Regions from separate parts of the Homo sapiens genome. Here region 2 is linked to region 1. Evidence: promoter capture Hi-C in human tissues and cell types (Jung and others, 2019). All regions are on one chromosome and are shown on one strand. The core of a region is centred on a gene start or on the middle of the fragment in contact, and the rest is flanking DNA. Distances in the headings are between cores, read along the strand shown. Region 1 holds the start of PSG9 (pregnancy specific beta-1-glycoprotein 9). Region 2 has its middle 70 kb from the start of PSG3.

Evidence for each region. Contacts are between HindIII fragments. The study calls those that stand out against the background at their distance.
Region 2: a contact is called between a fragment that was not itself captured here and the fragment with the promoter of PSG9 in region 1, in 4 of the 25 tissues and cell types used here (heart left ventricle, mesendoderm cells, stomach and 1 more).

The regions. Positions count from the first base shown.
Region 1 is chr19:43,265,744-43,271,880 of GRCh38, reverse strand. PSG9 (pregnancy specific beta-1-glycoprotein 9) reads left to right here and starts at 2,351. Exons shown (of 6, transcript NM_002784.5): 1 at 2,351-2,513; 2 at 3,732-4,097. The coding sequence starts at 2,450. The HindIII fragment of the contact is 8,927 bases long and covers 1-5,880 here.
Region 2 is chr19:42,667,596-42,673,732 of GRCh38, reverse strand. It overlaps the pseudogene RPS10P28. Among named protein-coding and RNA genes, the nearest start is that of PSG3, 70 kb to the left of the region's middle. The HindIII fragment of the contact is 6,603 bases long and covers 1-5,759 here.

The DNA.
Region 1 (6,137 bases), core at 1,102-3,601:
GGAGAGATGCCTCTAAGATTTTATCTCTGGACACCAACTGGAGCCACTTGAACCAGACACAGTATTGAAAACTACCATGGTGACCAAGCCCTGCCTCTGATTTGAGGCAAATAAACTTACACCTTAAAAAATGAATGCCAAGGCAACATGACACTATGAGCATCATGACATCCAGGGACACCAGCAGGGTGTGGTACTGTGCCCTGGAGTCAGAATCCTGGGTTCTGGTCCCTGGGAGTGAGAAAATGAAAATGACTTGTCCTTGCCCCCCTGACGTTGATCTTCCCACCCTGCTGCTCCCTCTTCTGCTCTCAAACCCATGTGCAGTGCTCAGCCCCAGGCATCACTGCCCCCAGGGTATTCACAGTGTTGCCTACTGCACACAAACACAAACTCACAGAAGGTGACAAAAATCTGCGTTTGGGACATCTGATTGTGAAAGAGGGATAACAGTGAACGTAGAGCCACAGAGACTGGGACTCACGGGGCTGGAAGGTGAAGGAGCTGTAACATAACATATGTGTGACCTCGTGTGAAGTGGAATAAAACATGCAGCCTGGCCTGGGATTGCTGCCGTTCACACTTCCCTCCCTGTCCACCAGAGGGCGACAGAGTCCCTCCCAGCCTGGAGCCTTCCCAGGGGATGCCAACCTCCCTCAGCGGAACCCACAGCCCAGCAGGGTCCACCCTCACCAGGGTCACTTCGGCCCAAGTCCTCAGCACCCTCCATGCTCCCCACACGGACTCTGTCAGTTCCTCCCTGACCTGGCGGCCGCCAACCTAACACCACTCCCTCTGCAGGGAGCTCCTGCCCCACACACCTGCTCCTTCCCTGGGCCCAGCTAAAGGCATCTCCCAGGGCAGCGCTGGTGCACGCGACGCCACACTGGGCGCTTTCCCCTCGTGAACTCTCTCCATCCTCATCAACTCTTTCTGTCACTGCTCCCTAAATGCCTGCCCCTGCTCCATCTGTCCTGTTCTCTGGGGCTTCCCAGGCCAAGCCTAGCGCCGACACAGAACAGCGGCTGCCTGAGGGCCCACAGCCTCCCCGGGAATCAGCCAGGCACCCTGTCACCTGCCTGCCCCCTGCACCCCAGGGGGCTCAGAGAGCGTGTGATGGTCATTCACAGGTACCATCCGGGATGTGGCCACCTACCCCCAGCTGTCCCTTGGGAAGACAGACCTCTCCTGTGTACTTGCGTGGAGAAGGGCGGTGTTATTGCTCTTTGCTCCCAGAACACAACTCACCCCCACCCGCCCTCTCAGGTGTGAGCAACGTCCCTCCAGAGAGCCTCTCTGGTCACTGCCTGTTCCTCCTCTACAGACAGCAGCTTGGCCAGGTCAAAACCCTCAGGACAGACCCCTGGGTGTGTCAGCACATGGAGGGCTGAGCCCATCATGGCCACGGAGTAAGTCGGGATGAATCTCTCCAGCTCTGAACCCCTGCTCTGTCCCAGGCTCCCCCTCCTGCGTCTCAATGAGCCATGTCCCGCGGGGTTCCTGGGTAACTCCCCACTTCCTCCTGCACCACCACGGGGAAGGTGTGGTGACCACAGGACAATCAGCTGGGCAGAGAAGAGAGGACATCAAAGATGGTCAGGGAGAACATGAGAAACCCTGAGCTCCAGCTCAGCCGCCAGACCCCAGGGAGCCATAGACTGACAGAGAACTGTCCCTTTGACTATGGGACTCACAGCCCCCACTGAGCAACCAGCACAGGCCTCTCCTCCTAAGAGGCATGAGAGATTCACCCTGCACACCTCCAGGAAGGACAGTTTCCTCTGGGACACCCAGGTCCTGAAAGTCCATCCTTGGAAGCTGCAGTCAAGCTTGACACGATTAGAGAAAGGAAGGGTCCCTCTCACCAGGCAACACACAGCTCACCCACAGCACAATGGGGTGTCACTGTGACAGGGACCTGGTGCATCTCCAGCCTCCTGCACTGAAGGGGAGAGCCAGATGGGGATGAAAGAGGGTAAAAGGCATGAATGTGCACCCCAACCCAGAGCCATGGGGACAGCAGGAGGCTGAGGCCCAGGACTGTGCTTGCCCAACCTGCAGGGTATGTGCCTGACTGTGTGGGTCTGTGTGTGTCTCTTCTGTGTGTGTGTGTGTGTGTGTGTGTGTGTGTGTGTGTCTGCACAAAGTGTGTGTTGAGGTTTGGTGAAAGAATCACTGCTGAAAAAGGCAGAGGCCTCCACAACTCCCAGGGACCTGAAACACAGACAAAAGGAAAAACAGAAGGAGGGACAAGGAGGCAGGACTGAGAGAGAAGGGGACAGAGAGGTGTCCTGGGACTGACCCCGCCCATGAGCTTGAGAAGTGCTCCTGCCCCGGGAAGAGGCTCAGCACAGAAGGAGGAAGGACAGCACAGCTGACAGCCGTGCTCAGACAGCTTCTGGATCCCAGGCTCATCTCCACAGAGGAGAACACACAGGCAGCAGAGACCATGGGGCCCCTCCCAGCCCCTTCCTGCACACAGCGCATCACCTGGAAGGGGCTCCTGCTCACAGGTGAGGAGAGAACTTCCTGGGAGAGGACAGGGGGAGGAAGCGGAGTGACTGGATGGGGTCTCCTGGAGAGGATGGGGTTGTAAAATAAAAGAAGCCAGCTCTTAGGGAGGCTGAGGTGGGTGGATCACGAGATCAGGAGTTCAAGATCAGTCCGGCCAATGCAGTGAAGCCCAGTCTCTCCTAAAAATATAAAAAATTAACCAGGTATGGTGGTGTACTCCTGTAATCCTAGCTACTCGGGAGGCTGAGGTGGGAGAATCATGTGAACCCGGGAGGCAGAAGTTGCAGCTAGCCGAGATACCGCCACTGCACGCCAGCCTGGGCGACAGTACGAGACTCCGTCTCAAAAAAAAAAGAAAAAAAGGAAAGAAGGCTCTGTTGCAGCCTGGATAGGGGAAAATACACCAGAGAGGGACAGGGGTCAAAAGAGGAAAGTCACATTGAACCGGAATTGGTAAGAGGTAGGAAAATCTTAAGTGTTCTGTTTTCCTGATTAATCATCCGGGGCCACCACATTTTGAAAAATGATAATAATAACTATATCAGATGACACTTCAAATAAAAATATAAGCAGGACATGAAACACTATCCTCAGCAAAAAACCTCAACAATTGGGGGAAAAAAAAACACCCAGGGCATGGAGGGCCCTGAGAACTCTCACATCTACAGGAGTCTGCAGCCTGTCCCAGGCACTGGGGTGCAACCAGGATCACAAAAGTCCCTGTCCTCACGGAGCTCACGCTGTCATGGGGAGGAAGACAGACATGCGAAGAGATGTAGAATGTGAGATCAGGTGTTGACAAGAACCCTGGAGGGAGCAGAGCAGGGAAAGGTCAGAAAGGGAAGACCCAGGGTCTCTGAAGGAGGTGTCAGGAAAGAAGTCTAAGGATGCCCTGATGTGAGCAGGACCTGAGGGCAGTGTGGAGGGGGCCGTGTGGACCCCTGGGGAAGAGGATTCCAAACAGAAAAATGCCAAGGTCAGAAGTGTTGAAGGAATGGGGGTCATGCTGCTGACCTTGACCTAGTAGGACAGTAGGACACACACACATACACATACACAAACACACATGCCCGTTTTTTGTGTGTGTTTGTTTGTATGTGTGCGTGTGTGTATCTTCAAGGCTGAGGATGGAAGAGACCTTCTCAGGACCCAGGGCCCCATCTTTTCACCACAATACATAGGTCTCAATATTAACTGATGCTGTCTCCCCCTCCTAGCATCACTTTTAAACTTCTGGAACCCGCCCACCACTGCCGAAGTCACGATTGAAGCCCAGCCACCCAAAGTTTCTGAGGGGAAGGATGTTCTTCTACTTGTCCACAATTTGCCCCAGAATCTTCCTGGCTACTTCTGGTACAAAGGGGAAATGACGGACCTCTACCATTACATTATATCGTATATAGTTGATGGTAAAATAATTATATATGGGCCTGCATACAGTGGAAGAGAAACAGTATATTCCAACGCATCCCTGCTGATCCAGAATGTCACCCGGAAGGATGCAGGAACCTACACCTTACACATCATAAAGCGAGGTGATGAGACTAGAGAAGAAATTCGACATTTCACCTTCACCTTATACTGTGAGTGATTCCACATGATCCCTGGGTGTTGGGGGGAAGGGGTCATTTCTACTTCACACACACAGGATTGTCAGGCCTGGACTCTGCCTGTGTCACTCTCTGCATTATGTCCCATGCTGGGGTTTGGGCATTTAGTGCAGGACACACACAGAGGAGACAAATTTCAACAGATCAGAATTCCTTTCCCGCATCCAGACCCTGCAGACACTCGCTGCAGAGGAAGGACAGTCTGATGGGGGGACTCAGCAGGAGGAGATCAGTCTCAGCCAAGCACATCATGCCCTCTTCATAAATTTGACCCTGAGAAAGACCCTGGAGAACTGAGTAGGGCTTGGCTTGAGGGGACCCCTGAGATACTCTCAGAGAAGCTCAGCCCTAGAAGCCTCAACCCCAGACCCCTGTCCCTAAATCCTTGCTCCAGTTAAGCTGAGGAGCCTGTGCCAGTGCTGGGTTGTGGCTTCTTGGGCAGGCCTTACTGGGACCAAGAATTTACCAGCTGTCTGAGGACTGTGTCTCCTGGAGCTGTTCACCAGCCAGGGCTCAGCCCTCAGAGTCTCATCTGGGCAAGGACAGAGCTTTTTCAGCTGACACTCAGAGTGGAGAGGACAGAAAGACAAGCTTTGTAGGACATCAGCCAACTGCCTTGGGAGGCTTAGGACAGTCCATAGAAAGTCTAATGTCCCCAGAAGCAGAAACAGAAGGGAGAAGATGTACCTGGTAGCAGCTTGTCCACAGGGATCTGACATAAGGTGCTTTCTCATGGAAGCAAATTAATAATAAATGCTGCTTGTGTGAAACCTCCACTGTGCCAAGCATTAGGTCAGGTGACTGTGAATCATTTAACATTTATTCACAGATAGCATGAAAAGCCACAGTCCATTTGCCATTTAGTTTATTTGATTGAGAGAAAACTGAGGCACAGGAAGGTGCAGTCACTGAACCAGAGTCACACAAACACAAAGGGGAGATCAGGGTCACATGAGGTCTGTCTGCAGCCACAGGCCTATCCTCTCCTCCACCAGAAGTGAGGGCTTACTGGGTTCCAAGGACCCCATAGTCATTTATTGGCTCAAATCCTCTCTTCTTAGGCATCCAAACCTCAGAGGAGTGAGAGCAAATGGTCAGCTGATTAGTCTGTATTCCAGAACTAAATCACCTGCCTCAACCATCAGAGTCAGTGCAAAAAATATGTCCAGGCCTCCCCCTCAGATCTTAACCCCCATCACTGAACGTGAAATCCTGTGTTTCCCAAAGTGTCCATGTCACTGTCATGAGAGGATCAAGGAGAGGACCTTGTTTTCTTTCCCCACTCACACCCTACACCAGCACAGGCCCAGCGAGAGACACACACTCAGGAGCTCTCACATAATGAATGAAGAACTTGAATGAAGAAATGAATGATCCAAAACCTCTTTAGAGACTGAATTTGCATGCAGAATCCTAGGAGGTTCTAGCCACACCTGTCCCTTGTCCTTCAGAGGCTGACACCCACGTTTCATCCCCCCACTACCTCTTGCCCCTAAAGCCACCCCACCTCATGTAACTCTGAAGCTCTTTGGCCACCGGAGGGTTCTCAGGGCTCCTTGGTCCTGGACTGTGGAACTGGGGGCACCTGGGCCCTGGGGTCTCTGAAGTCAGTGTCTCCCTCACTGCTCACTGCCATGGTGTCTCTGCCTCTCTCTGCTTCTCTGTGTCCCTCATCTTCCTCCCACTTCATTCTGACTGGCAAGCCCTGTCCTGCACAGCTTCTTCCCCCACCCCTAGGCCTTCCCCAGACATTCCCTCTAACTAGGCTGGCTGTTCGGTTCCCTTCCTACTAACACTGTGGCCTGGCCCACCTCCCAGGAAATAGGAAAGGCACAGAAATCACCTGGAGTTGCCACTCCTGCCTGGCTTCATCTCCAGCCAATGTCCCCAGGTCACTAAGAGAAATATTCCACTGTATTCCCATCCATGGCTCTTTCCCTTTGTCAGTCTGACCTGTGGACAAGAACATGGGACAGGGATAGGCAGTTCCTCCATCCACTCATAATTGCCAGA
Region 2 (6,137 bases), core at 1,209-3,708, 600 kb after region 1:
TGCTTATAAGATGTGTTGGTGGTATAGTGGGGAGCATAGCTGCCTTCCAATGTGCTTGTAAATATTAGGTTGGTGCAAAAGTAATTGTGGTTTTTGCCATTAAAAGTACGGGCAAAACCGCAATTGCTTTTGCACCAACCTAACACATAGAATATGTCTGGATAAGACATAAGAAACAGATATTCCTGGTTGCCTCTGCAGAGGGAAACCAGGTGATAGGATGGAGGAGGGATAGGTGTTATGAGGGACACTTTCAGTATACGCTTTTCTACCTGTTGAAATTTGTACTGTTAATGCATTACCTGTTCAAACAAGTAAAATTTATGATTATAAAAATATACACTAAATCATTAAAAGTGGTTATTGCTGAAGGAAAAAAAAGATGCTGCTAATGTCAGCCATTGGGTAGACTAAAGGATCTCTTATGTTATGTGGAAATAAGGGAATGAATTCATCCCAGATTCAACACTCTGTTAAGCTACCCTCAGAAGATACTTCTTGTGAAATTCTAATGACAGCATTATCTCACCAAGAAAAAGAGGCAGACATGAGCAAGGACAAATTAAGAGGGGCAAGAGCCTCATCAGGAAGGGGAGTCTTGTTTTGACATCTTGGGAAAAGCTGTCCACAGTGTGAGGTCATCAACTTCTTGTCCTGGTTTGCAGTTAAGTGCCTCTAGTTATGGTGTCAAATATTTTGGTGAGCTCTGAGTGGCCCATACCTCAGACATGAAGGTTTTCCCATGAAATTTACATTGAGTTGTCCCCCTCCAGCTTATAGGGCTTCAGGAACACAGCAGATCTTGTTCTTACTGATTCCATAGGAGAAATTGGGTTGGAGAAACTAGAAGAATTCAGGGTCCAGTCCAGTCTACAGGTGGATTATAAAAACTCAAAAACAATGAACAGAGCTGAAATCTCATAAAAGTTGTGCTACAGTTTTTCTTCTCAACATAATTTTTCTCTCTATGGGCATCTCTATTTCTACCAAAGATAATACCACTAAGGCAAATTTGTTTGCAAAATAGATTGAGTCTCATCAAACTTGGCCTTTACATTAAGTGCAGAAAGAGTTGTAATGGATCACATAGGCTCTTCTTAAACTTTGCTTTGCTGGATATTTTTTATAAGGAATCTCAGATTAAACTTTCAAAAACCTCTTGAGACCAGGAAGCCAAACCAAGGCTTACTTTACACTTGCCTGCAGTATCTGTGGTTTCATTCTATTTATATTTTCAAATGTAATATCCCAGTCAAAGCCTTGGTAATATAACCAATGTTTTCAAATGTATCCTGTTATAAAGAGAGCAGATATTTATTGAACTTAAGCAAATATCTGTATTACCATAAACATATGAATACTCATGAATAGTTGCCCAATTCTAAGGCAGTCAGGTAGGGAGCAAAAGTAAATGCTTCAATTTTTGTTCACAAAAGTATACTTTGTCAAATTACTGTGTGCTATAGATTGGTTAAAAGAAAAAATTCCATAAATCTGGAAAACAAACCACTTAAAGAATCAGCAAAACTCCAAACAAAAAATCATAAAAACATTCTCATCATTATTATTATTTAGTCCAATGAAATTGAGTTTTTTCCTGCTTGGTCTTGGCTGGCAATTTCATGAAGGTATCAGAAGAACTTGGAAGTTCTTAGACAGTCCAGTGGTATCTTAAATTCATCAAAAACTTGTATTAAAGAATCCTTGTCAGAGCCTTTTCTGTAAATCTCCTTGAAGCAAGAAGCAATTTTGGACTGTAGCTGATTGGAAATACTTTGAGGAAGAATCAAAACAACTGTCTATGAATGACAGATTTAAAATAACTATGGTTAAAAATCTGATGAGCGTTCATTAAGATAAAGACATGGCTCATATAGAAATCTAGTTGCTTCTGTGGCATATGACATTATGACTGATATTAGATTTCTATGAATCTCATATAATTTTTGGAAGACTCATATCAGTAACATACCCATAAATTAACATTGAGAATACACGCCAAGTTTGATGAGACTCAATCTATTTTGCAAACAAATTTGCCTTAGTGGTATTATCTTTGGTAGAAATAGAGATGCCCATAGAGAGAAAAATTATGTTGAGAAGAAAAACTGTAGCACAACTTTTATGAGATTTCAGCTCTGTTCATTGTTTTTGAGTTTTTATAATCCACCTGTAGACTGGACTGGACCCTGAATTCTTCTAGTTTCTCCAACCCAATTTCTCCTATGGAATCAGTAAGAACAAGATCTGCTGTGTTCCTGAAGCCCTATAAGCTGGAGGGGGACAACTCAATGTAAATTTCATGGGAAAACCTTCATGTCTGAGGTATGGGCCACTCAGAGCTCACCAAAATATTTGACACCATAACTAGAGGCACTTAACTGCAAACCAGGACAAGAAGTTGATGACCTCACAAACTTATCATTTGACAATGCTTCCCATATAATTTAACATATCAAATAAAGTGGCTTTTCCATTTAGCTTGTGTTTCTTAACTGGATTACTGAGTTCTCGGTGTAGCCCATTAACAAATATGGCCAACAAAGTATAGGCTTATGTATGTTGAAAAACCTCCCTAGGTCATCTAGCTAAAAACCATTAATTTAGCCCTACGTCCTACCTATTTAAACAGGAGAGTTCACCATCCTGGTTACACATTAGTAGCATCTGGGGAAGCTTAAAAATTATCAATGCCTGGGTCCCACGCCAGACCACTAAATCAGAAGGTATGGGGAGTGAGGGCTTCAGCATCCATTTTTAAAAAATGTTTCCCTGTGATTCCAATGTGTGGCTGTATTTCCCATCAGATTTATCTGAATTCTTGTGGCATTCATTTTGTTCTATTTTGGTATTATAATTACTTTTTTTTTCTTTTTGGCTGTAGGTTTATTCAATGCAAAATAATCCTCTCCAATTTTTCTGAGGTGGTTGACCACGTCCACATCCAAATCCGCCTCTAAACTGGAATTTGGTTGCTGACCCGGCCCCAGCCTCGGTTTTCTTGTCGGCACCAGGGGGCACAGCACTCCGTCTGTAGGTATCTCTGTCGGTTTCCTCTCTTTTGAGTCTTGCAGGTGGCTCACCCTCCAGACCTTTAGGCGGAGGCCTGCCAGTCTCTGGACGGTTGTGGCGTAGGGTGGCAGGCACAATCTCCAGGGGCAGATGAAGATAATCACGGAGATACTGGATGCCTTCATTGGTAAGGTACCAGTAGAAATGTCTCCAGGCAAACTGTTCCTTCACGTAGTCTCAGGACTTGAGAGACTGCATGGCCTTCATGACATGAAGGTTGGGCACATTCTTGTCTGCCAGCTCCGGGTGCTTAGGCATGTGGACATCCTTCTTAGCCACCGTGACTCCTTCCTTAAAAAGGAGTTCATGGCTGGGCGCCGTGGCTCACACCTGTAATCCCAGTACTTTGGGAGGCCAAGGCAGGTGGATCTCGAGGTCAGGAGATCGAGATCATCCTGGCTAACACAGTGAAACCCCGTCTCTACTAAAAATACAAAAACAAAATTAGCCGAGCGTGGTGGCGGGCGCCTGTAGTCCCAGCTACTCGGGAGGCTGAGGAGGGAGAATGGCGTGAACCTGGGAGGCGGAGCTTGCCGTGAGCCCAGATCACTCCACTGCACTCCAGCCTGGGCGACAGAGTCAGACTCTGTCTCAAAAAAAAAAAAAAAAAAAAAAAGTTCATAAATGGCAATCCGACTCTTCTTAGGCATTAACATCTTGGTGGCTGTAGGGTCCAGGGCCGGAGTTTATAATTACTTTTAAGGTCCTATCTTGTGTCTTAGGCTTTATGATCCCTGGGGTAGGGACCTTGCCTTCTTCATTTCTGTATTTTTCATGAACACATAAATTGGTTATCAGGGAAAGCTTCCCAACCACATGTATATTGTGTCCTAAGTCTTAGATTCACACATTAATGCTAGAGTCATTGTTCTCCATGAGGTCAGAGGTTGCTTGTGATGAAGGCTGTGGGTAACTTTGCAGTGCAGATGATGGAGGGCGGTCACCCTGTTTTAGGCATACAATTTGAACTAATAATCCCTTGTGTATATGGCATGGGTGGGCAGGCATATGTAGGGAGACAGATGTAATTAGGATAGAGGAATTATATAAGGGAGTGGTGGTAAAGGAAGTAAGAAGGATTAGTAAAGAGAAGAAATGTAAACTTATCTAATAGGCCAGAGTCGGCCCCTGTAGATTCTTGAGTAGGTGAGTGAACTAGATTTTAGGAAGGTAATGAGGAAGTCATATGCAAGGAAGATTTCAAATACTGGAGACAAGGAGTCAAGCAGGAATTCAAGCAGTTGTTGAGGTCTATGGGAATGGAGAGAATGACACAAGTGAGAGATGTTAAGAAAGGATCAAAAGACTTTCATAGTGTATTGAATCTGGGAAACAAATGAGCAGAGGCTGGGGATAATCACATCTAAGAGACAGTGGGGTACAGGCAGCATGCAGACCAGGGAAGAAGAGACCTGCAGGAATTAGTGCTGAGAAGCAGGAGTTTATTGGGAGGAGGAGGAGATCCAGTCCTGGGATATAGGTCCCTCTCCCAAGCATGGCAGTCAGCCCTGCAGGAAACAGGACAAGAGGAAAGGCCATCATACCCGCCAGTCTTCCTGAAATGCAGAAACTACACCAAAGCTGCTATATCAGAGCCACCCTGGCCAGTACTCCAATCATGATGCTGACAGTGGCCTTAGTTGGGAGGACAGGAGAACTTCCCTGTGCTGAAACATCTGTAATGGAAGGAAAATAAAAGAAGGAATAAAAGTGATGTTGTTTTACACTGGGGTGCCCCAAGAACCAGCTCTCGGCATGGAGTACTGTACTTGTTCCTTCAAGGAATAAATTATTTGTATAAGAAGGCTGATGAGAGATGATTAGCCAACCACATTTTTGCCATTTTTTCCTTCTCTCACCATGTTTCTAGGTTGGTGATAGTCTTCTGTCATTCCTTCCTGGTCTTTCTGCACTCAGATATTTTTGAAGGCTTTGGGATGTGAGAAAGGCTGATGGCTATTTGCTATGTCATTAGAACCTTCCACCTTTTCATGGTTGCATCTTTTTCTCAGTGTCTCAGTTTTGGCAGCCATGAATTAGACCCTGTCAGTCTCTATGGCAGGGAGGTGCTTGACAGAAGGGCCAGGTCAGTGCGTTTCAAATTCACTACCTCCCTTGCAGAGACCTCACTTCCCAGGGCCTCCCAGCAGGGGTATGAAAGCAAGCCCAGTTCTGTGAGACTCTGTGTAACTCTAATGGGTGACTGGTGAAGGCACTCCCCTTCAGCCCTGCAGAAACTCTTTTTGAACTGCATTGCTATCCAAAATTTCTTTCTCTTTATCTTTCACAGAAATCAGATCTGCGTTGTGGTCTGAGAGCTCTCTCAGGCTTCTCTCACACTTGCCTTCCTTTCCCTCACAGGCATTTACCCTAATAAATTCTCTTCCATGTCTAATCCACTATTGGCTGCATCTGAATGGGTTAAAAACTAACATTCCAGGCTTGATTCTTTGCACTTAGTTTTTTCTCTCTCTCCCACATGTAGTCAGTAACAGTGTCCTAGTATTTTCTGTGTTACCTCTTTTTCCATATTTCCATATGTGTGTGTGTGTTGGGAAAAGGGATTGTGGGGTGCCTGTATAAACTGGCCACAAAAATATGGGACAATAAGCTGTGGAAAGCCACAAGAGGCCTCTGAGGAGGAAAGCCTCCTAATTGCCATCATATTCCCATGTTCAGAGTGAGACCTGCTTTCTTATCTATAAACACTGTGTTCAAGGAGAAAGACACTCCTTTGAAACACTGGAATGTGGACAGACATGCAGGTTCCCAGTTAAGCCCACTCCCACTAGCTACTCTCCGATAAGTTAAAGATATGCTGTTTGAGCGCAAAGGAGATTCATTTAAACTGCTATTGCTATAGATTACACCTATGACATACTGCCTCCCTTTCACTGTTTTGCCCTGAACATCTGCTTCTTAGATCTAAGTAATTGTACTCAATAAATAGTATGGAGACCAGAGCTTGGCACCTTTTGCAGCCTCCATTTTGCAACTGGCCCCCTGGCTCCCACCTTTATGAACTCTTAACCTGTCTCTGCTCATTCCTTTGTCGCCACCAGACT